Linked DNA regions of Homo sapiens: all the other regions are linked to region 4. The links are contacts of gene promoters, found by promoter capture Hi-C in human tissues and cell types (Jung and others, 2019). All regions are on one chromosome and are shown on one strand. The core of a region is centred on a gene start or on the middle of the fragment in contact, and the rest is flanking DNA. Distances in the headings are between cores, read along the strand shown.

What was found. The method cuts DNA at HindIII sites, captures the fragments that hold promoters and counts their contacts. A contact is called where the count stands out against the background at its distance.
Region 1: a contact is called between a fragment that was not itself captured here and the fragment with the promoter of CSPG5 in region 4, in 5 of the 25 tissues and cell types used here (IMR-90 fibroblasts, aorta, heart left ventricle and 2 more).
Region 2: a fragment that was not itself captured here is called in contact with the fragment with the promoter of CSPG5 in region 4 in 1 of the 25 tissues and cell types used here (mesenchymal stem cells).
Region 3: a contact is called between a fragment that was not itself captured here and the fragment with the promoter of CSPG5 in region 4, in 5 of the 25 tissues and cell types used here (IMR-90 fibroblasts, aorta, dorsolateral prefrontal cortex and 2 more).

What each region holds. Positions count from the first base shown.
Region 1 is chr3:47,743,119-47,748,560 of GRCh38, reverse strand. It overlaps SMARCC1 (SWI/SNF related BAF chromatin remodeling complex subunit C1), which reads left to right. Exons shown (of 28, transcript NM_003074.4): 3 at 2,568-2,653. Among named protein-coding and RNA genes, the nearest start is that of SMARCC1, 36 kb to the left of the region's middle. RefSeq lists an enhancer at 5,301-5,440. The HindIII fragment of the contact is 9,491 bases long and covers 1-5,442 here.
Region 2 is chr3:47,762,090-47,767,684 of GRCh38, reverse strand. All of the region lies in intron 2 of SMARCC1 (SWI/SNF related BAF chromatin remodeling complex subunit C1), which reads left to right. Among named protein-coding and RNA genes, the nearest start is that of SMARCC1, 17 kb to the left of the region's middle. The HindIII fragment of the contact is 7,286 bases long and covers 1-5,150 here.
Region 3 is chr3:47,708,141-47,714,112 of GRCh38, reverse strand. SMARCC1 (SWI/SNF related BAF chromatin remodeling complex subunit C1) reads left to right here. Exons shown (of 28, transcript NM_003074.4): 9 at 3,305-3,430. Among named protein-coding and RNA genes, the nearest start is that of HIGD2AP2, 48 kb to the right of the region's middle. The HindIII fragment of the contact is 9,280 bases long and covers 1-5,972 here.
Region 4 is chr3:47,577,599-47,583,487 of GRCh38, reverse strand. It overlaps CSPG5 (chondroitin sulfate proteoglycan 5), which reads left to right and starts at 4,623. Exons shown (of 5, transcript NM_006574.4): 1 at 4,623-4,891; 2 at 5,560-5,889. The coding sequence starts at 4,795. RefSeq lists an enhancer at 3,294-3,998 and silencers at 5,123-5,172, 5,213-5,272, 5,323-5,412. The HindIII fragment of the contact is 21,614 bases long and covers 1-5,889 here.

The sequences.
Region 1 (5,442 bases), core at 946-3,445, 170 kb before region 4:
TTACACCACATTTTTATGGTCATTAAATATTATAATAGGCCGGGTGCGGTGGCTCATGCCTGTAATCCCAGCACTTTGGGAGGCCAAGGTGGGCGGATCACTTGAGATCAAGAGTTTCATATCAGCTTGGCCAATATGGCAAAAGTTTGTCTTTTAAATATGCAAAAAACAGAAAAAAAATTAGCCAGGCGTATTGGCACTTGCTTGTAATCCCAACTACTTGGGAGGCTGAGATACGAGAATTCCTTGAACCCAGAAGGCAGAGGCTACAGTGAGCCATGATCACCCAGCTGTACTCCAGCCTGAGCAACACAGTGAGACCCTGTTTCAAAAAGATAAAAAAGTATAATAAAAGTGTTCACTTACAATTTTTGCATAATTTATGTTTTTATTTTTATTTTTTATTTTTTGTTGAGACAGTCTCACTGTGTCGCCCAGGCTGGAGTGCAGTGGTGTGATCTTGGCAACCTCTGCCCCTGGGTTCAAGCGATTCTCCTGCCTCAGCCTCCCGAGTAGCTGGGATTACATGCGCCCGCCACCATGCCTGGCTAATTTTTGTATTTTTAGTAGAGATGGGGCTTCACCATGTTGGCCGTGCTGGTGGCAAACTCCTCACCTCACATGATCCACCCGCTTTGGCCTTCCAAAGTGCTGGGATTACAGGCGTGAGCCACCATGCCTGGCCTAATTTTTGTATATTTATAGTCAAGAATTTATAAGGCGAAGAAGTCCACTATCCTTATATTTCTTTTTTTCTTTTGTTTCTTTGTGACAAAGTTTCACTTCCTTGCCCAAGCTGGCCTCAAACTCCTGGCTTCAAGCAGTCCTCCCTTCCTCCCTGCCTTCTTTCTCAACCAGAGTACTGGGGTTACAGGCATTTTCTTTGGAACCATTTTGATTTATCTTTTTTATAAAAAAATTTGTTTTTTGAGATAAGGTCACACTCTGTCACCCAGGCTGGATTTGTCACCATCACAGTTCACTACAGCTTGACTTCCCATGCTCATGCAATCCTCCTACCTCAGCCTCCTGAGTAGGTGGGACTACAGGCGTGTGCCACCATGCCTGGCTAATTTTTATATTTATATTTATATTTATATTTATATTTATATTTATATTTTTTTGAGACAAATTCTGGTTTTATTGCCCAGGCTAGAGTATAGTGGCATGGTCTCAGCTCACTGCAACCTTTGCCTCCTAGGTTCAAGCCATCCTCCTACCTCAGCCTCCCAGTAGCTGGGGCTACAGGCACACTCCCCCCATGCCTGGCTAATTTCTTTTGCATTTTTTGTTGAGACGGGGTTTCACCATGTTGCCCAGGCTGGTCTTGAACTCCTGTGCTCAAGCCATCTGCCCGCTTCGGCCTGCCAAATGCTGGGATTACAGGTGTGAGCCACTCCTGCACCTGGCCTAATTTTTAAATTTTTTGTAGAGGTAGGATCTCACTGTGTTGCCCAAGCTGGTCTCAGACTCCTGGCCTCAAGTGATTCTTTCACCTTGGTGTCTCAAAATGTTAGAATTACTGGTGTGTAGCCAGGCACGATGGCTCATGCCTGTAATCACAGCACTTTGGGAGGTTGAGGCGGGCAGATCACCTGAGGTTGGGAGTTCGAGACCAGCCTGGCCAACATAGAGAAACCCTGTCTCTACTAAAAATGCAAAATTAGCCGGGCGTGGTCATGCATGCCTATAATCCCAGCTACTTAGGAGGCTGAGGCAGGAGAATCACTTGAACCTGGGAGGCGTAGGTTGCAGTGAGCCGAGATAGCACCATTGCACTCCAGCCTGGGCAACAAAAGCAAAATTCTATCTCAAAAAAAAAAAAAAAAAAAAATTACTGATGTGAGCCACTGCTCCTGGCCTATATTTAGCTTTTTAAAATCTTTCTTTTGACAGACTAATTACTCAAATTATAATATGTTTATGGAATTTAAAAGGAATTCTTTTGGGGAGGGGTATGGGGTCTTGCTATATTGTCCAGGCTGGTTTTGAATTTCTGTGCTCAAGTGATTCTTTCATCTCAGCCTCCCAAGTAGCTGCGACTATAGGTGTGAGCCACTGTACTGGCTACAAGAAAGTAGTTTCACTTCAGTTTATTTCATTTGATTTTTCTTGAGACAGCATCTCACTCTGTCATCCAGGGCTGGAGTGCAGTAGGGCGATCAGGGCTCACCGCAGGCTCAACCTCTCAGGCTGAAGTGATCCTCCCACCCCAGCCTCCTGGATAGGATTGCAGGTGTGTGCCACAATGCACAGCTAATTTTTAAATTTTTTTCTAGAGACTGGATCTCCCTGTGTTGCCCAGACTGGTCTTGAACTCCTGGGCTTAAGTGATCCTCCTGTTTCACGCTCCCAGAGTGTTGGGATTACAGGCATGAGCCACCATGCCCAGCCTAATCTACTTTTAGAAAAATGTATTGATTCCTCAGTTTATTCAAGAAGATGTTTAAGGAGGTTGTTTAATTAGTATTTGTTTATATATTTGAATTTATAAAACTTAGAATTAAGACATGAGTAATTTTGTCAGAAGCTTTATTTTTCTCATGTGTAATTTGTATCATTTTTAGGCAAAGTGTTTCATGGATTTCAAAGCTGGAGGCGCCTTATGTCACATTCTTGGGGCTGCTTACAAGTATAAAAATGAACAGGGATGGTAAGTTTTTGTATTTGTTTGCATGTTTTGATCTTAAGTTATTTACTTTTAAGTCCTGTTTCCTTGTGTTAGAAAATCCTGTAAGCACATGATGATTAATGTGTTTTACCAAGAGCCCTAATTTACCTTGTTTCTACATCCAAGAAAAATATCAAGCAACCACGTATTTATTTATTTTTGAGACAGGGTCTTAAAAATAGGACCAACCAAGGCTGTTGGCAAGGCTAGAAGTGCAGTGGTGGAATCTCAGGTCACTGCATCCCGCGCATCAGATTCAAGCAATTCTCATGCCCCAGCCTCCTGAGTAGCTGGGACTGTAGGCGTGCACCACCATGCCTGGCTAATTTTTCTATTTTTAGTAGAAATAGGGTTTTGTCATGTTGGTCAGGCTGCTCTCAAACTCCTGGCCTCAAGCACTCCACCCATCTCAGCCTCCCAAAGTGCTGGGATTACAGGCGTGAGCCACCGCACCCGGCCACAACCAAGTATTTATTAGGGAAGTGATTTCTTATATTTGATTTTTATAGTAACAGGTGTACATTGTTAGCAAATTAGAAGGTAGGCTTGCCATGAAATGTGTGTGTATAATGAACTCATACATTATATTTGAAGTGGATAGATAGTATTTTTGTTTGTTTGTTTTGTTTTTTTGAGACTTAGTTGCGCTTTTTCGCCCAGGCTGGAGTGAAGTGGCACCATCTCAGCTCACTGCAACCTTCCAGTGATTCTCCTGCCTCAGCCTCCTGAGTAACTGGGATTACAGGCACCTGCCACCACATGCCCAGCTAATTTTTGCATTTTTAGTAGAGATGGGGTTTCACCATGTTGGCCAGGCTGGTCTCGAACTCCTGACCTCAGGCGATCTACCTGCCTTGACCTTCCAAGGTGCTAGGATTACAGGTGTGAGCCACCGTGCCTGGCCAGATAGCAGTTTTAAGAGATAAAGTTATCTAGGCCTGCAAGAGTATTCCATTTTGCTATCCTCAGGACAGGGATAAAAGAAATAGAGATCTTTGCCTAGGTCAGTGTTGTAGATAGATTGAGAATCCCTGCAGATATTCCTGCCATTTTGCTCCCTTCAGTCTTTTCCCCTTTTCTAGCTGTCTCTCTTGGTACTATTTCTTTTTTTTCTCTTGAACTCTGGAGTTTCCATCAGTTACTGGGACTAGTGATGTCCTGAGCTGTGGGGTTGTCAGGGACATAGTTCACAGGGTAGGGTTGGGGGAGTGGAGTATATTGTCCTGAAATTGTTTGGTATTTTCAGTTGAGTTAGTGGTGCACAGTTTATAACCTTAGCATCTTTCCAGGAGAATACACATGTAATTTATATATTTTACTTTAAAAGTTAAGCTAACCCAATACTTTATGGTTGGGAAGTGCAAATAAATATTTAGATCAACAATAAGGACAAGTGTGTAATTAAATAAATTATTTATATAGTAAATAGTAGGAGATACAAACTTACATGTGTATTTACTGAAACTTTTTATATATGGATGGTGTTTAATAGATATTGATTTGGATCACCTGAGGTCAGGAGTTCGAGTCCAGACTGGCCATCATGGCGAAACCCTGTCTCTACTAAAAATACAAAAAAAATTAGCCAGACTTGGTGGCAGGCACTTGTAATCCCAGGTACTCAGGAGGCTGAGACAGGAGAATTGCTTGAACCCGGGAGACGGAGGTTGCAGTGAGCTGAGATTGCGCCACTGCACTCCTGCCTGGGCTGTCTCCAAAAAAAAAGATATTGACTAAAGTAGCATGAGACTTGTTTCTTTTTGTTATCAGAGGTAGCTCTCTGTTTTCCAGTTCTGTGTCTAGCTCTGATGTTGGACCTCTCACGATGGTATTCCCTATCTAGGAGCAACGGCATGTCTCTGTACTTGTAGAGATGGTTTGTACCCTACTGTTAACTCTGGGTTCCCAGTTGGAACTCTTTTCTGTCCTTGGTTCTTGTTTAGCTTTTATCACAAGTCCTAACCTGGACACTTGAGGATAGAATACCAAAGTGATATGATTTTTCCTAGGTCACATATTGTGGAACTTGCTTTGTGTCTGTAGTTTCTGCACAATGAAATTTTTTTTTTTTTTTTTTGAGACATAGTCTCGCTCTGTCACCCAGGCCGGAGTGCAGTGGTGTAATCTCGGCTCACTGCAACCTCTACCTCCCAGGTTCAAGCAGTTCTCCTGCCTCACCCTCCTGAGTAGCTGGGATTACAGGTGCCTGCCACCACACATGGCTAATTTTTGTATTTTTAGTAGAGACCAGGTTTCTCCATGTTGGCCAGGCTGGTCTTGAACTCCTGACTCAGGTGACCCGCCAGACTCGGCCTCCCAAAATGCTGGGATTACAGGCATGAGTCACCATGCCCGGCCACAGTGAAATATTTTTATCTGAAATCACTTGCAGTAGTTTAGAAAGATACGTGTAATACAGGCCGGGTGCAGTGGCTTGTCTCAAAAAAAAAGGAAGATATATGTAATACAGTTTCCTTAAAATTAAAAGTGGGACTAAAAAAGACGTAAAGGATAGGGTTAGCATTGTCAGGAATAAGAATTTTTCCAAGTCTTTTATGCAGATTGTGCCAGAATTATTTCCTTTCAGGTATAGTTATGTGTCCAGTTTCAGTGTGCACCTTCTCTCATCTCTTGTGCCTCGCACACTTGAAGTGAGTGCATATTTTAGTAACTCCCCACTCTGTTTGGATATCTGAATACTGACCTGTCATTCTTGCCCCATGCCTAACATGCCTCTCAGAACTTTGTCTGTGTTCTTTAATTGAACCTCA
Region 2 (5,595 bases), core at 258-2,757, 190 kb before region 4:
TGTTGGCCAAGCTGGTCTCGAACTCCTGAACTTGTGATCCACCCGCCTCGGCCTCCCAAGGTGCTGGGATTACAGGCGTGAGCCACCGCACCCGGCCGAGTTCACTATTTGGACTTTTTTTTTTTTTTTTTAAATCAGAGTGGAGGCTGGGTGCGGTGGCTCACACCTTGTAATCCCAGCACTTTGGGAGGCTGAAGTGGGTGGATCACCTCAGGTTGAGAGTTCGAGACCAGCCTGACCAACATGGAGAAACTCCATGTCTACTAAAAATAAAAAATTAGCCGAGTGTGGTGGTACATGCCTGTAATCCCAGCTACTCAGGAGGCCGAGGCAGGAGAATCACTTGAACCCGGGAGGTGGAGTTTATAGTGAGCCGAGATTGTGCCCATTGCACTCCAGCCTGGGCAACAAGAGCGAAACTCCATCTCAAAAAAAAAAAGAGAAAAAGGAAAAGAAAAAAATCAGAGTGGAACCTTTTTTTTTTTTTTTTTTTTTCTTTTTGGAGACAGAATCATGCTCTGTTGCCCAGGCTGGAGTGCAGTGGTGTGATCTCGGCTCACTGCAACTTCCGCCTCCTGGGTTCAGGCGATTCTCCTGCCTCAGCCTCCCAAGTAGCTGGGACAACAGGTGCCCGCCACCACGCCCGGCTAATTTTGTTTTGTATTTTAGTAGAGACAGGGTTTCACTGTGTTAGCCAGGATGGTCTTGATCTGACCTCGTGATCCGCATGCCTCGGCTTCCCAAAGTGCTGGGATTACAGGCGTGAGCCACCATGCCCAGCTAGAGTGGAACTTTATATAGTAACTTCCCAAGTCATGCTGGATGTCGGACAGCTGGCTCTTGTTCTATCAAATGCTGAGAGATTTAGAAAGAACCAAGCATTTCATAAGGCTAAGGCTAAAGGTATATTGCATTACCAAACACATGATTTGAAACAAAAAAAATTGCTAAGAAGATGTGGGTATAAAACAAAAAAGAAAAATATATTTTACCTTCACTACAAGTAAAGTTTCTAATTTTCCCACAAGCCCTCCAAGGCTTTAGTACGTGTGCATACATAATGTAAACATAATTGTAATAATAGGATAGAGCTGTTTTTCTTTTTTTGAGACAGGGTCTCTCTCACTCTGTCACTCAGGCTGGAGTGCAGTGGCATGATCTCAACTCACTGCATATTCGACCATGACTTTCCAGACTCAGGTAGATCCTCCCACCTCACCCTCCTGAGTAGTTGGGACAAGCATGCACCACTACACCCTGCTAATTTTTGTTTTTTTTTTTTGTAGAGACAGGGTTTTGCCCTGTTGCCCAGACTGTTCTCGAACTCCTGGGCTCAGGCAGTCTTTCCGCCTTGGCCCCCCAAAGTCCTGGGTTTACAGACATGAGCCACAGTGCCCGGCCTAGAGCTGTTTTTTTATTCTGCATTTTAAAATGGATTATAAGCATCTGTGTTTAAAAAAACAGGAAAGCTCTGAGAGTAAGAAATATAGAAGGTTAAGTGAGAGTCTCAAGTAACTGGATTTTAATTGTGTTTGGGAGATATCCAAGATTTTGTTTTCTTTTTTACGTGACACAGCTCCAGGAGATCTTGAGAACATGTACCCTTATGCCCAAAATTGTAAACCTGTCATTGCACTTAAAAAAATCATTTAGGCTGGGGGCAGTGGCTCACGCCTGTAATCCCAGCACTTTGGGAGGCTGAGGTAGGTGGATCACCTGAGGTCAGGAGTTCGAAACCAGCCTGGCCAACATGGTGAAACCCTGTCTCTACTACAAATACAAAAATTACCCGGGTGTGGTGGCAGGCGCCTGTAATCCCAGCTGCTCGGGAGGCTGAGGCAGGAGAACTGCTAGCCCCCAGGAGGCGGAGGTTGCAGTGAGCCAAGATCATGCCACTGTACTCCAGCCTGGGCGACAGAGTGAGACTCCATCTCAAAAAAAAAAAAAAATTAATTTGCAACTGGAGGAAAAATGTAGAATATTATATTCCTGAACTGATTTCACTCTGCTGTTGTATGAATTTCAGAATGGAGAGACTATCTTTGGGAACATGGGACTAGGAAGGAGACCGTAAGTGTTGTATATATATTTGAAGTGAGCATTTGAGTTTGTAGCTTAGAACTCTGTCTGATGAAAGTGGAATATGAGCACCTGTTTAAGCAAAATAGTGTAGGAAATTTACTTGTGGAATAATGGTTTAGTTTCTTTCTTTTTTTTTTTAAACAACTTCCTATTGTAAAATATATAGAAAGTGAGTAAAATAAATTTTGACTTAAATAATTATAAAGAGAACATCCATTTAACCACAGTCCAGGTCAGAAATTGCTAACAACCCTAACAAACGTATGTGTTCCTTCCCCAACCATAAACTCCTCTTTTTCCCCACAGATAATCTTTTCCTTGCCGTTTTTTTTTTTGTATGTTTTTGTTTTTGAGACAGAGTTTCTCTCTTGTTGCTCAGGCTGGCGTGCAATGGCACGATCTCGGCTTACTGCAACCTCTGCCTCCCGAGTTCAAGCGGTTCTCTTGCTTCAGCCTCCTGACTAGCTGGGATTACAGGCATGCGCCACCACGCCCGGCTAATTTTGCATTTTTGGTAGAGACAGGGTTTCTCCATGTTGTTCAGGCTGGTCTTGAACTCCCGACCTCAGGTGGTCTGCCTGCCTCAGCCTCCCAAAGTGCTGGGATTACAGGCGTGAGCCACCGCGCCTGGCCTCCTTGCTTTTCTTTATAGGTATCACTGTGTTAGTGTGCATCCCTGAATAATATAGTATTATGTTTTGCTTGTTTTTGAATTTTGTACTAATGAACTCATAGATATTCTTGTAACTTGGGGGCCATGTAGGAAATAATTTGCCAACATGGAGAAAACAAATAGTCTAACTGAACTGCTCAGCCACATACGTGTGGATAAAACAAATTACTGTAGAAGAATAGTTAAATCTGAAAAATCTAGTTAGCTAGCTTCTGGCCTTTATAATTCATGTGCAAGGGCAGTGAGCCTACATGATGTAGCATGACCAGTTAGATAGAGCTCAGTAGGCTGCAGAATATGGGCTGCTGTGCTGGAGACATGGACTAGTATTCCAGGCAGAGGGCATGCTGGACCAGGTGGTGGGCAAGGCTCTGGAAAGCTATATGATCAACTTCAGTGCAGGTTTGTACTCCGTACCATGTGGATTCGTAGGTAGAAACCTGAGTTCACTGACATTGTACTTATTTATTTGATTGATGTTTCATTTATTTATTTTTTCTATATTTTTACTTTTTTCATCTTTCTCTCTCTCCCTGTAATGTGTCCTACAGCTTTGCTGAAGTATGGCCAATGTACAGTGAACAGTACATATTTAGCTGGGCACACTGGCTCATGCCTGTAATCCAGACTACTTGGGAGACTGAAGTAGGAGGGTCACATGAGGCAAGGAGTTTGAGACCAGCTTGAGCAACATATTGAGACCCTATTTATCAGAAAAACTAAAAATTAGTCGTGCATGGTGGTGTGTGATTGTGGTCCCAACTACTTGGGAGCTGACCCAGGAGGATCACTTGATCCCAGGAGTTAGAGGCTGCCATGAGTTACAGTAGTACTACTGCTGCACTCTAGCCTGAGTGATAGAGCGAAATCCCATCAATATCTCTTTCTCTTTTTTTTTTCCTAAAGAGAAAGGCTGGGTGCAGTGGTTCATGCTTATAATCTTAGCATTTTGGGTGGCTGAGGCTAGAGGAGTCCTTGAGCCCAGGAGTTTGAGACCAGCCTGGACAACATGGTGAGAGCCGTCTACAAAAAATAAAAAAAAATTAGCTTGGTGTGGTGGTGCATGCCTGTGGTCCCAGCTACTTTGGGAGGCTGAGGTAGGAGGATCTCTTGAGCCCAGGAGGTTGAGGCTGCAGTGGGCTATAATCATGCCACTGCACTCCAGCCTAGGCGACAGTGAGTCCCTGTTTGAGAAAAAAAACCTAACTGAAGTATTTTGTGTTGTGAAAATATAGTGTAAACATAAAACAGAATACTGTATATATATATTTTTTTTCTTAAAAAAAAAATCTCAGCTGGGCACTGTGGCTCATGCCTATCTATAATCCCAACACTTTGGGAGGCCTAGGTGAGTGGGTCCTCTGAGCTCAAGAGTTTGAGACTAGCCTGAGCAACAATCTTGTGAAATTGAGCTTTTCTTAATATATCTACAAAAATGTAAAGTGTAATACTGACGTATTTTAAAGCAGTTGTCAGAACTCACTGAAAAAATTATTATGTTTTTATAATTTTTTTTTTTTTTAGAGCTGGAGTCTCGCTATTGTTGCCCAGGCTGGTCCCAAACTCCTGGGCTCAAGCTATCCTCCTGCCTTGTCCTCTGAAAGTGTTGACCCAAAAGGGCTGGGTGTGGTGGCTCATGCCTGTAATCCTAACGTTTTGGGAGGCTGAGGCAGGAGGATCACTTGAGCCCAGGAACTCGAGACTAGCCTGGGCAACAAAGTGAGACCCTGTCTCTAAAAAAGATTGAAAAATAAAAAAGAGGAAAAGAAAGATTATTACTGTTGAAGAAGGAGATGCATTGAGGAGATGGATACACCTATTTTAAGGGAACTATCATTCAACGTTTTCTCTTTTTTTTTTTTTTGAGATGGAGTCTCGCTCTGTCGCCCAGGCTAGAGTGTAGTGGCGTGATCTCGGCTCACTGCAACCTCCGCCTCCTGGGTTCAAGCAATTCTCCTGCCTCAGCCTCCCGAGTAGCTGGGACTACAGGTGCCTGCCACCACACCTGGCTAATTTTTTGTATTTTTAGTAGAGACAGGGTTTCACCGTGTTAGCCAGGATGGTCTCGATCTCCTGACCTCGTGATCTGCCCGCCTCGGCCTCCCAAAGTGCTGGGATTACAGGCGTGAGCTACTGCACCCAGCCACACCTGGCTAATTCTTATATTTTTAGTAGCGACAGGGTTTCACCATGTTGGCCAGGCTGATCTCAAACTCCTGACCTCAGGTGATTCTCCCATCTCGGCCTCCCAAAGTGCTGGGATTACAGGTGTGAGCCACTGTGCCTAGCCTCATTCAACATTTTCTAAATTTATTTTCAATTGTTACGTGATTTGGTGGAACACCTGTAAATACGTTGAGCATAAAATGTTGTCATAGCCAGTTCTAACAAATGTGGTGGTGTGATTGAACTGGATAATACTATTTTGGGATGTTTTAGATGAGTCACAGTTCATAAGCTATCTCTTTCTGACACCTTTGAATTTCTTCCCAGTAAGTATGACTGACCTCATGGCAGGAATTCTCACCAACTGGATCAGTCTGGTGTAATGGAAAGGGTGGGAGTTGGAGGACTGTCACTTTAACAGTCTGTTTTCATTTGATTGAATAAACCGTTTGGAACGTGAAGTTAATAAGAAGGGGCTTACAGTTGGAGTTGGACTTGATCACTGGTTTTATAATTATTTCCTGGGGAGTACCTGTAGCATCTGAGAAGAGGGAGGGGAGGAGTAAATGCAGAGGGCTAAGAAGAATCTGTTGTCTTCAAGTTTCACTTTGAACAATTTTTCTTAATAGTCCTCTCTCTGAGTTTCTAAAAATGTTCTGTGGCAAAGGAATAGG
Region 3 (5,972 bases), core at 532-3,031, 130 kb before region 4:
GGATTACAGGTGTAAGCCATCGTGCCTGGCCAAAAAAATTCTTACAATAATCTAATAGCTCTTCTCAGCTGTTTTCTACAGCAGTCTCTCTAAGGAGATACAGAATGTTGGTTTCCCTTTCCTGTCATCCATTTACAAGATACGTACGGCCATGAAGACTTTATTATCTAGGTCTTAGATGAAATGTCTGCAGTGCTTGATGTTTGAGGAGAATCCAAAGGCAGGTCAGATTGTGGTTTGTGAGAGAGGAGTGTGAGGAGTAGAGTTGAACATCACTGATGATGTCATTTGGGTAGCTTGGAAGCAATGCCTGTGTGACTTTTAGAATGATACAGACTTACTTTATTAATCATTTCTACCATAATGTAATAAGAGTCCATACATTGACTTTTAATCAACTTTTGATGTGGAAATAAAGTTTATGGGGCATGGTGGCTCACACCTGTAATAACAACACTTTGGGAGGCTAAGGCAGGAGGATTGCTTGACCAGCCTGAGCTACCAAAAAAAAAAAATTATCTGAGCATAATGTCAAGTGCCCTATAGTCCTAGCTACATACTTGGAAGGCTGAGGCAGGAGGATTGCTTGAGCTGAGGAGGTTGAGGCTGCAGTGAGCCGTGATTGCAACCACTTCACTCCAGCCTTTATAACAAGTTAAGACCCTGTCTCAAAACAAAAAAATTAATTTTACAAGTTGCAAGAGTAGTACAAAACAAAGCACTACTTGGTACCCTTCTTCCAGATTTATCTTTTATTTATTTATTTATTTATTTATTTATTTATTTATTTATTTTGAGACGGAGTCTGGCTCTGTCGCCCAGGCTGGAGTGCAGTGGCGCGATCTCGGCTTACGGCAAGCTCCACCTCCCGGGTTCACACCATTCTACCTCAGCCTTCTGAGTAGCTGGGATTACAGGCGCCCGCCACCAAGCCCGGCTAATTTTTCTTTTTTTAGTAGAGATGGGGTTTCACTGTGTTAGCCAGGATGGTCTCGATCTCCTGACCTTGTGATCTGCCCGCCTGGACCTCCCAAAGTGTTGGGATTACAGGTGTGAGCCATTGCGCCTGGCCCAGATTTTTCTGTTTTTAACTATTTTTGGAAATTAAATGTTGAAATTATACTATCATCTAATAGTAAAGGAGTAAGCCATGTGACTCATGAGCCATGTAATGTTGTGAAGTACTACTGAAGGATTTTTAGACATCTATTTCCCTGTAGATTATAGTATCAGAACTGGGAATGATTACTTAACTATGGTATCACATTATTAGGAAGGAAACTAGGCTCCACAAGTTAAGTAGTTTTACCCAAGGACACATGGACTTTTGTATTATTTTGACATGAAGGTATTTTTTATGAGAGAGATAACAAAGCATAGGACTTGAGAGCTCAGGGAGAACTTAGTGCAAATCCAAGCTTTGCCTCTAATTAGGAGTGTAAATAGTCAGCTTACTAAAACTGTTTGCCCAAGTTTTCTGATTTGGAAAGCCAGAGAGTATAATACCCGCATTATTTCACTGTGCTTAGGAGAGTTAAATGAGATTATACGTGTAAGATGTTCAGCATAGTGCCTGACACAAACAGTTGTTAGCTGTCACATACTCCTCTAACATTCTTTCTCAGGAGATTTCTTTCAAGGATTTCTCAGTAGTTAAAGGATTATCAGTGTGAAAATTCAGCTCTTTTAAAAAAAAAAGGAAGCAATGTATACACATGTTTCTCACACTTTGGAAAACACTATTTTGACATTTATTTTCTAAACTATCAGTTAATTAACCCTTTTATTTAGCACAGTCCTATTTTTTTTTTCTAACTAGCTTAAGCCTCTATTTATATACTCTATTTATTTATTTAGTTAGTTAGTTAGTTATTTATTTTGAGACGGAACTTCATTCTTGTTGCCCAGGCTGGAGTGCAATGGCGTGATCTTGGCTCACTGCAACCTCCGCCTCCTGGGTTCAAGTGATTCTCCTGCCTCAGCCTCCCGAGTAGCTGGGATTACAGGCATGTGCCACCACCTTAACTAATTTTTGTATTTTTAGTAGAAACGGGGTTTCTCCTTGTTGGTCAGGCTGGTCTTGAACTCCCGACCTCAGGTGATCTGCCCGCCTCAGCCTCCCAAAGTGCTGGGATTACAGGCATGAACCACCACGCCCGGCCTATACACTCTATTTATTCTGCTCTATTTATACTGCTCTGTTTATACACTCTTCCCATAATTTGTCCATTTAGGAGTCTTTTCAGGTTACATTATTGGAGGCTTTATTTGTCTTGGACAGGCTGTTAATTTGGTGTTTCTGTATATTACTGTGTAACTATAGTTTTCAAGGGAGAGGAGGCGTGTAGTCAGATGGGTATCATTCTTAACTCAAGGTACTTGAAAGGCATATCCCAAATAACCAGTTTAGTAGCTCTTTGAAAACAGGGAGTTTAGATTGACAAATTACTAGGAAGTTCATATTGTTTTCTAGTCATTGCCACAGTGTATCTTGTTTTTACAGTGTTCTAGAAAGGCTTCATAATTGTAATCTGTTCTTGACTGAACATGTTCATTTCAACCAACACTACTCCAACTTAAACCTCCACCATGACTTGAGTTTTTCTGTACAAGGAAGAATTTTCTAGTGTCAAATTCCAGTTGTGCCCCCATTGAGAAATACTGTTGGATAATATGGAATGTTATATGGGTTAGGCCTGTGGTTTAAGTATCTATCTATATGTATATATACATCTACATTTGTACGTCCACACAACCTTTCATTTTATTCTTACTCAGAAGCATGAAATTAAACAAGGGAGGTGGCCATATAAAGGACTAGGAAGAACCCACCATCTGACTGTCACTTTTCCATTCCTACCTAGAGCACCATGTGTACATGATGGGGCAGGTGATCGGCCTCTGCGAATGTGCTCTGTCATCAACACTTAGAGTGTTGTTGATAAACCCAAAGACATCCTTCGTGCCTAAAGCAATGACTGATTTTGGCTCTGTGCTGTTGAATGTTTTTATCAGTGATTTTCATGAACATAAGGATGAAATGATTAAGCAAAACAAATTTGAGGGACTTTGCTATCAAAATCTGGGTCTAGTATAAATTATTGATGCTTTCTTGTTCTCTTTAATATGGAATAAAAATAGAGATGATTAAATTACAACTCACATATCATTAGTAGTATCACATTATTAATGTTTTATGCATTTGAGGCTTTGAAAATAAATCAGCTTGTTTCCTTCTCAATACTGTAAAACCTTGAGTGATTTTGTTATTTATGTAGATATTGATGCTTTGATATGGTTTTAGGTTCATGTGAAATGGATTTTGGACACTGATATTTTCAATGAATGGATGAATGAGGAGGATTATGAGGTGGATGAAAATAGGAAGCCTGTGAGTTTTCGTCAGCGGATTTCAACCAAGAATGAAGAGGTATTTTCTTTGGCACAGTTTCTCATCATTAAGTCTGTCTTCTTGGCCTAAATGTTATTAAATCTTCATCAGTAAGCTGTCATATACAAACCACTTAGGAACTTTCACATCTGCCTGATGGCTGATGTGCCATCAGGTGAAAATTCCAAAGTGGCTGTAATAGCCATCTCAGAAACAATAACCTCCCAAAAAGTGGTATGAAAATCTTAAAAGGTTATTAAGATTTAAAGTGGCCCATGCAGAAGGGTAGTGGTATAGCTGATTTTGCCCACTAGATCTGAAGTGTAATATCACAGCAGAATTTAATGTAGCTGTTGGTTTTCCTATGCAAAACTCATTTTGTTTAGTATGTATATATATTTTTTGAGACAGAGTCTTGCTCTGTAGCCCAGGCTGGAGTACAGTGGCACTATCTCGGCTCACTGCAACCTCTGCCTCTTGGGTTGAAGCGATTCTCCTGCCTCAAGCCTCCCAAGTAGCTGGGATTATAGGCGCTTGCCACCATACCTGGCTAATTTTTGCATTTTTAGTAGAGACAGGGTTTCTCCATGTTGGCCAGGTTGGTCTCGAACTCCTGACCTCAGGTGATCAGCCTGCCTTGGCCTCTCAAAGTGCTGGGATTACAGGCATGAGCCACCACACCCGACCTGTTTAATATTCTTAAATAACTGTTAATCCACAGATGGTAGTTAGTGTAAAGTATAGGCCTTAAACATGTTAACAGTTATAGTTCAATCCACTTTTCTGAGGGTGGAGGACTTGACATTTTATATCATTTAATCTTTTAAGACGTTCAGTTGCTTAGATATTTACCCATGATTCCTTGTAAGGCACAAGTTGTGGAAGGACAACTTGTGTGGTAGGTGTCACTAGAAGACGACTTGACACTGAGAAGAAGGTGTGTTAGTATTGGGTTTGTGATAGCTTTTAGAGACTTCTGGTTCCTTTTCCTGGGGTGTTGTTTTACTTTTATTTTTTATTTATTTATTTATTTTTTGAGACAGATTCTCACTCTGTTGCCCAGGCTGGAATGCAGTGGCGCGATCTCGGCTCACTGCAACCTCCACCTGCTGGGTTCAAGCTATCCTCCTGCCTCAGCCTCCCAAGTAGTTGGGACTACAGGCACGTGCCACCACATCTGGCTAATTTTTGTATTTTTAGTAGAAACGGGATTTCACCATGTTGGCCAGGCTGGTCTTGAACTCTTAACCTCAGGTGATCTGACTGCCTCGGCCTCTCAAAGTGCTGGGATTACAGGCATGAGCCACCGCGCCTGACCTGTTTTACTTTATTGAAAAATCTTAGAGATGGATATTCTTTGAACCACTGACATGCAGAGTACAGTACTTTCATACCTATTTCAGTGCTGTGACTTTACTATGAAAACCTTACTGTTTTTCACATTAATTTTTTTTTTCCCTTGACAAGGGGTCTCGTTCTATTGCCCAGGCTGGAGTGCAGTGGAATGATCTTGGCTGAATGCAATGTCTGCCTCCTGGGTTCAAGTAATTCTCCTGCCTCAGCTTCCCAAGTACCTGGGATTACAGGCACGTGCCACCACACCTGGCTAATTTTTTTATTTTCAGTAGAGATGGAGTTTCACTATGTTGGCCAGGCTGATCTTGAACTTCTGACCTCAGTTGATCCACCGGCCTTGGCTTCCCAAAATGCTGGGATTACAGGTATGAGCCACTATGCCTTGCCAATTTTTAGGAAAAATATTAGGAAACAAAAATATTAAATGACTGGGCCCAGTGGCTCACACCTGTAATCCCAGCACTTTCGGAGGCCGAGGTAGGAGGATAGTTTGAGCCCAGAAGTTTGAGACCAGCCTGGGCAATGTAGCAAGACCTCGTCTCTTCAACTGATAAAAAATTTAGAGAAAAAAAAGAAAAGAAAAATGTTTTACAGTTGAGTCTTTGTCATACCTTTTTACTTGCAGTTGGTTGTCGTTTGTTTTGGAATTGGACTATTCAAAATTTTTTTTTTCCACCACTGTCTTATGGTGCTGAGGACTCTTCATATTCTCTTATTTTAACCTTTCCAGAAGATATACTTACATATTTGCTTTCCCTGAATATATTTTAATCCAAGGCTTTTTTGTCATTAGGAATATTCCAATTTCTATATTACATTATTTAACTGGCCAGTTCATACCCATTTCTGTTCAGATTTAGTTTGTTTGTTTATTCATTTATTTTTAGGAGGTTATATAGAAATGGATATTTGTTAAAAAATTAAGGGTTGGGCATGGTGGCTAAAGCCTGTAATTCCAGTACTTTGGGAGGCCAGGGTAGGTGGAGTGCTTGAGCCCAGGAGTCCAAGACTAGCCTGGGCAACATGGCAATACGCTGTCTCTGCAAAAAATACAAAAATTAGCTGGGCATGGTGGTGCGCAACTGTAGTCCCAGCTACATGGGAGGCTGAGGTGAGGGGGATCAATTGAGCCCAGGAGGTTAAGGCTTCAGTGATCCGTAATCACTTGAATTTGGGTAGTGGAGGTTGCAGTGAGCTGAGATCGCGCCACTGCACTCCAGCCTGG
Region 4 (5,889 bases), core at 3,374-5,873:
CTACCATCTAAGGTGCCTTCTTGGGGCAGTTGGTCCAGAAGAATGTAAGGAAGTGGCAGCAGTCTTGGATGATGATAGCCACTCAGTTTCATTCTGATCCTCCCTAGCAGATTTCTATAGCAGTTTCAGAACTGGGCAGGTGGTAGAAGGTGGGTCCAACCAAACCGGCCCAGGCTGATTGATGTGTCTGGTTTGTTTCAGACATGGATGAGTTTCCTGTGGCATCCCTGTTTACAGTCAGCTTATTCCACAGTAGCTACAGGATGCCCGAGAAGTGCTTAGGTCACCTGCTGAGGCAGCAGGTCTCTTCTGCAGACAAACTTAGTTGCTTGGCCGTGCGCGGTGGGCTCACACCTGTAATCCCAGCACTTTGGGAGGCCCAGCTGGGCAGATCACCTGAGGTCGGGAGTTCAAGACCAGCCTGGTCAACATGGCGAAACCCTGTCTCCACTAAAAATACAAAATTAGCCGGTGTGGTGGTGCATGCCTGTAATCCCAGCTACTCGGGAGCCTGAGGCAGGAAAATCACTTGAACCCTGGAGGTGGAGGTTGCAGTGAGCCGAGATCATGCCATTAAACTCCAGCCTGGGCAACAAGAGCGAAACTCTGTCTCCAAAAAAAAAAAAAAGTTGCTCCACATGGTGAGGCCCTGTGTTTGCTTGTGCTATGTGGCTTTCTCCCAGCTGGTTTGGCTTTGGGGTAATGAAATTCAAGAGGCCTTTCCAATCTGTTTGCAGACCCATTGCCTGAACAAGATTATCACCTTCAGGTTGTGATGTCCTTAGATGACAGCACTTGCTCAACTGAGAATCCAGAGTTTTCTGCAGTCCAGAGGTGGTGGTCAGCACAAAGAACTCAGACCCCCTACCTCTTAGCCCTTCCCTTTCTGGGGGATGGTGTAAAGAGGCACATCGCGTAAAATGGTCACAGAGCAGATTGCCATGCAGCCTAGAACCAGGAGTCTGGTCTTGTTGCTGTGTTCCCTGGTAAGAGATCATGGCATTATTTCTTAAATGGCTAAGTGAAGGTGGGAGAGTTGGGGAGGGGAGGAGGGAGGTCCTCTGTTCTGCCAATTAATAGTCTACCTCTGTGTCCTGATTCCTCTTCTCAAGCAGGAATGAAAAGCCTCCATATTAAAACGAAAGGGTTTGGAATCAGGGTCTTAGTTCAAATCCTGTCCTTACCACTTCACTAGCGTACTCTTGGACAAAATTGCTAATTCTCTCAGTTTGCAGATGTGTAAAATAGGACTGACGATATTTGTAGTGTGATTGTGAAGAATAAGGCAAATTAGCACAAGGAAAACTAAAAACTCAATATGTTTGTGTTAGCCTGTTTGTGTTGCTATAAAAGAATAAAGAATATCTGAGATTGGGTAATTTATAAGGAAAAGTGTGTTTGGCTAACGGTTCTGCAGGCTGTACACAACATAGAGCCAGCATCTGCTTCCAGTCAGGGCCTCAGGAAGCTTACAATCTTGGCGGAAGACAAAGGGGAGCCAGCATCACATGGTGAGAGCAGGAGTGAGAGAGAAAGTACTAGGTTCATGTAAACAACCAGATCTCACATGAACCCATGAAGCAAGAACTCATTACCTCGAGCACCAAGCCATTCATGGGGAGTCCACCCCCATGACCCAAACACCTCACACTAGGCTCACGTCCGACACTGGATGTCACATTTCAGCATGAGATTTGGAGGGAATAAAACATCCAAACCATATCAATGTTAGTGGTTAATACTGAGGACTTAAAGCCAGGAATTTCCAGTCCACACAGCTATGCCCCCAGCCATGGCAACTGGAGCACTCCTCTGGACTGCAGCCCCCTGGTCAAGCCGGGGGTTTTTCATGCAGTCGGAGGCTGGCTGCATTCGTGGCAATGGACCTTGAGCCTACCTGAGCTCTGGAGGCAGGCTGCCAACCCAGTAAGAACCTCAGAGGCATGAAGAAACTGTTGACACATAAAACATCCCTGATGCCCAGGTGCAAGAGACATAAATACGGGGACATGGATATAAGGACGTCAGTTTCCCTTTCTTTCACTCTGTGGTTCCTACATCTTCTATCTCTTCTTTACCCTACCACAGTCCTGTGCTCAGAAGAAATACTCATTTGACTCTCTGGTTACCAAGCATTTTCACATATGAGAGACAGGTTGCTAACTCAAAGTCACGCTGCAGCTGAATCCTGCCCTTCCCATCACGTTCCACTGACTGAATTTTCCCATTCATCTTGTGGAGGTGTTACCCAACCAAGTGTGCTATGCTCAGTTCTCAAACTGCTAGTGAGATCCACTAGGGAAGATCAGAATGAAACTGAGTGGCAACAATTGATTTAAAGTCTCAAGTTGGGCCGGGCACGGTGGCTCATGCCTGCAATCCCAGCACTTTGGGAGGCCAAGGCGGGCGGATCACCTGAGGCCTGGAGTTCGAGACCAGCCTGAGCCAACATGGAGAAACCCCGTCTCTACAAAAAATACCAAATTAGCCGGGCGTGGCATGCCTGTAATCCCAGCTACTCGGGAGGCTGAGGCAGAGAATCACTTGAACCCAGGAGGCAGAGGTTGCAGTGAGTCAATATCACACCATTGCACTCTAGTCTGGGTGACAGAGTGAGACTCTGTCTCAACAAAAAAAAAAAATTCCAAATTGAAGGAAGCGTTAGCAGACTTCATCTCCAGGAAAGGGAAGAAGAAGATACTTAAATAATTAACAAAATATATTTAAAATGAGTGGGAGAACTTCCTCCATTAAACCCTGTTGAAAATGTGTGAGTGGTTGTCATGCCCCAGACATCAAGGAACCCATCCATGAGGTCTTCCCACACAGACTGGCCTCAGGAAGGGAAGGAGGAGGTAGGCCGCTCTGACAGCCACAACCCGAGTTGAGGAAACAAGCAAAGGAACACAGAGAGTCTACATACAGTAAAAGGTGACAGGAGTTAAGCTGCACACAAGGGAAGCAGAGATGGGTTGGAGGCAGTTAAGGGTGCGTTGCTGCCTCTGTGGCTGAGGTGAGTGCAAAGCCCTACATGGTCCCCTGTTTAGAGAAGGCTATTGTTTCAAACATATTTTACTTGGTCCCCGGAGGCAGCATGAAACTATGAAAGAAAGAGCCTTACCCCTTTTTTCAAGGCTCTCCAGACCACAGTTCTGGGATGGGTGTGGGTGGTTGCCATTCGTTCATTTATGCCTGTCTGATATGGAGCCTCCCTCTGTTACCAGCCCTGTGCACTCAAGTGCCTTGCAGTCCAGTGAGGAATAACTGTAGATAAGATGAGATGATGGGCATTAAGTGTAACTGCTGAGAAGCCTTCATAGAGGGAAAGGTGATAAGAACTGAGTTTTTCTGGCATGAGGAGTTTACCAGGCAGGAGAGGTGGAGACGCTAGGCTAGGCAAATAGGCTGCAGCCATAGTTCTGCTGAGAAACAGGTTTTGAACCAAGGCAACTCCATCTGGAGATATGTATCAGAAAGATTAGGAGATAGAATCTCCATCTTGGTCACTTATTTGGTCTTCTAAGACAGCAATGGGACCGTCTCTTAAATACTGGAGTTGTCCTATCTCCTTGGGCTGATACCCTGAACTGTCATTTGGGTGAGTAACACATTAAGGGGTAGACGGTCGGTTTGGGGGAATAAACTAAGTAACTAGGTTGCGGTTCCTCCTGCCGACTAAGCAGACCTCCTGGTGCGTGGTCTTGGGTTGCCCTGTGAGCCCTGAAGCTGTGAATGGGCCCCACAGATCACTCTAAAGCCAAGCATCCATGTGTGCCCGGCTGGGGATCTAGACCCCCCTGGTCTACCCAGGAACCTGAGTTTTGGTGGTCTGAGACACCTGGGGGACGACGTATCCCGGAGAAGGGACCAGGATTAAAGGCCGCTCCCCAGGCTGCCCGGAGACTAGAAGGAAGGCGAGGTAGCCGCAGTCCCAGGGAGGGTCTTACCCCTTGCTCCCGGGATGCGTTATGGCGGGCCTGGCTGTGCGAGATCTAGGCTAGTGGCTTTGGCTGCGAACGGATTAGATCTGATCCGATTAGAGCCTGGGCGGTCGGCTTCGCCCCCTTGCCAGGCTCTGCCAACGCCCGCCCCTCCCTCGTGGAGACCCGGAGACCTCCCTGAGAGCCTTCCCGCCCGGAACACGGGATTGGTGCAGAATCCGAGAGGCTCCATGCGCCCCGGGCCTGGCTTGTTTCCACAGTGGGGGCTCGTGCTTCCGCCCCCTGCGGCTCTTCTGGACCCCGCCCCGACCCTGCGGGTAACTGGGCCCGCGACGTCCCCGCCTCCGTGCTTGCCGCGTGGCGGGTGGGTTCCTCCGGGTCGGGGCCCCGTGCCGCCTGTTCACCTGGGGCGGGACCGTGGCCCCATCCCACAGGTCTCCCGCCCGTGCACCTGCCGCCTAACGCCGCGCGCCGCGCCGTGCGCCTGCCTCGCGCTCCCCGTCCGCCTGCCCCGCACTCCCCGTCCGTGTGTCTCCTAGTCCCCAGCGAGGGGTCTGTCTGTTCCCCTGGCAGGCTGACCAAGGGGCCGGCGTCACCGCTACGTGCGGCGGGGCCGGCGCGGCGGGCGGGGTGAGGGCGGCGCTGAGCGCAGCGGCGGCAGCGGCGGCGCGGGAGGCGGGGAGGCGCGGCGCGCCGGGGACAGCGGCGGACGGCGGCGGCGGCGGCATGCGGCTCCTCGCGCTGCCCATCGTGGGCTGAGGCGGCCGCAGAACCGGCGGGAGGCGCGGCGGCCGGGCGAGCCGAGGGCGCAGCCAGCCGGGCGGACCGCGGACAGCGGTCGGGGCGCCGCGCCATGGGGCGAGCCGGGGGCGGGGGCCCGGGCCGGGGGCCGCCGCCACTGCTGCTGTTTCTGGGGGCCGCGCTGGTCCTGGCCTCTGGGGCCGTGCCGGGTAGGTATGACTGCGCCCGGGACCCCCGCGGCCCTCGTGCCCCACCCAGGGCAGGGGTCCCGCTGGCGGCGGGGACAGGTGGAGCTGTGAGCTGTGGCAAGGGGGCGGGGCACCGCCTGGCCGCGGCCGGGCGGCGGAATGGTCCCAGGAGGTGGTGGGGGTCCGGGAAAGGCCGACCCGCGTGGGGGCCGACCCCGGTTGGGGTAGCCGGGACCCAAGCGCGCGGGCCGCGGTGCGGACTGGGGGCGGGGCCGGGGGCGGGGCCGGGGCGGGGCCGGGGCGGGGCCTGAGGGTGAGACTTCGGGGCGGGACCTGGAGCTGAGGGCGGGAGCCAGTGGACGCGGCTCAGGGTGGGTTCCCGAGGGTGAGACTTATGGGTGGGCCGAGCTGGGGGCCGCCCTGGCCTGGCTCTTCAGACGGCGGGGCAGGTCGGGCGGGGCCGAGCCGCGAGGCGTTGGGCGGGGTGTGATCCTCGTCTTGGGGGCAGACTCCGGGACGGGGCTTAGAGGTACCGGGTGGCTGGGGTCACACTGGGGCGGTGGGGTCTGAGGGTGGCGAGGTCTGGGTTGACCAGGTCTAGGCGAGCGGGCCTGACCGGGGCGGGCCGGGGCTCCAGGGCTCCTCAGCGCGCCGCCCTGACGTCCCGCCCCTTGCCCTCCCGCCCGCAGCGCGTGAGGCGGGCAGCGCGGTTGAGGCCGAAGAGCTGGTGAAGGGCAGCCCGGCGTGGGAGCCGCCTGCCAACGACACGCGGGAAGAAGCCGGCCCACCAGCGGCTGGGGAAGATGAGGCGTCGTGGACGGCGCCCGGTGGCGAGCTGGCCGGGCCAGAAGAGGTGCTGCAGGAGTCGGCTGCGGTGACCGGCACCGCCTGGCTGGAAGCTGACAGCCCAGGCCTGGGAGGAGTGACCGCAGAGGCGGGCAGCGGCGATGCCCAGGCCCTTCCAGCTACGCTCCAGGCTCCCCACGAGGTCCTCGGGCAGTCAATCATGCCCCCTGCCA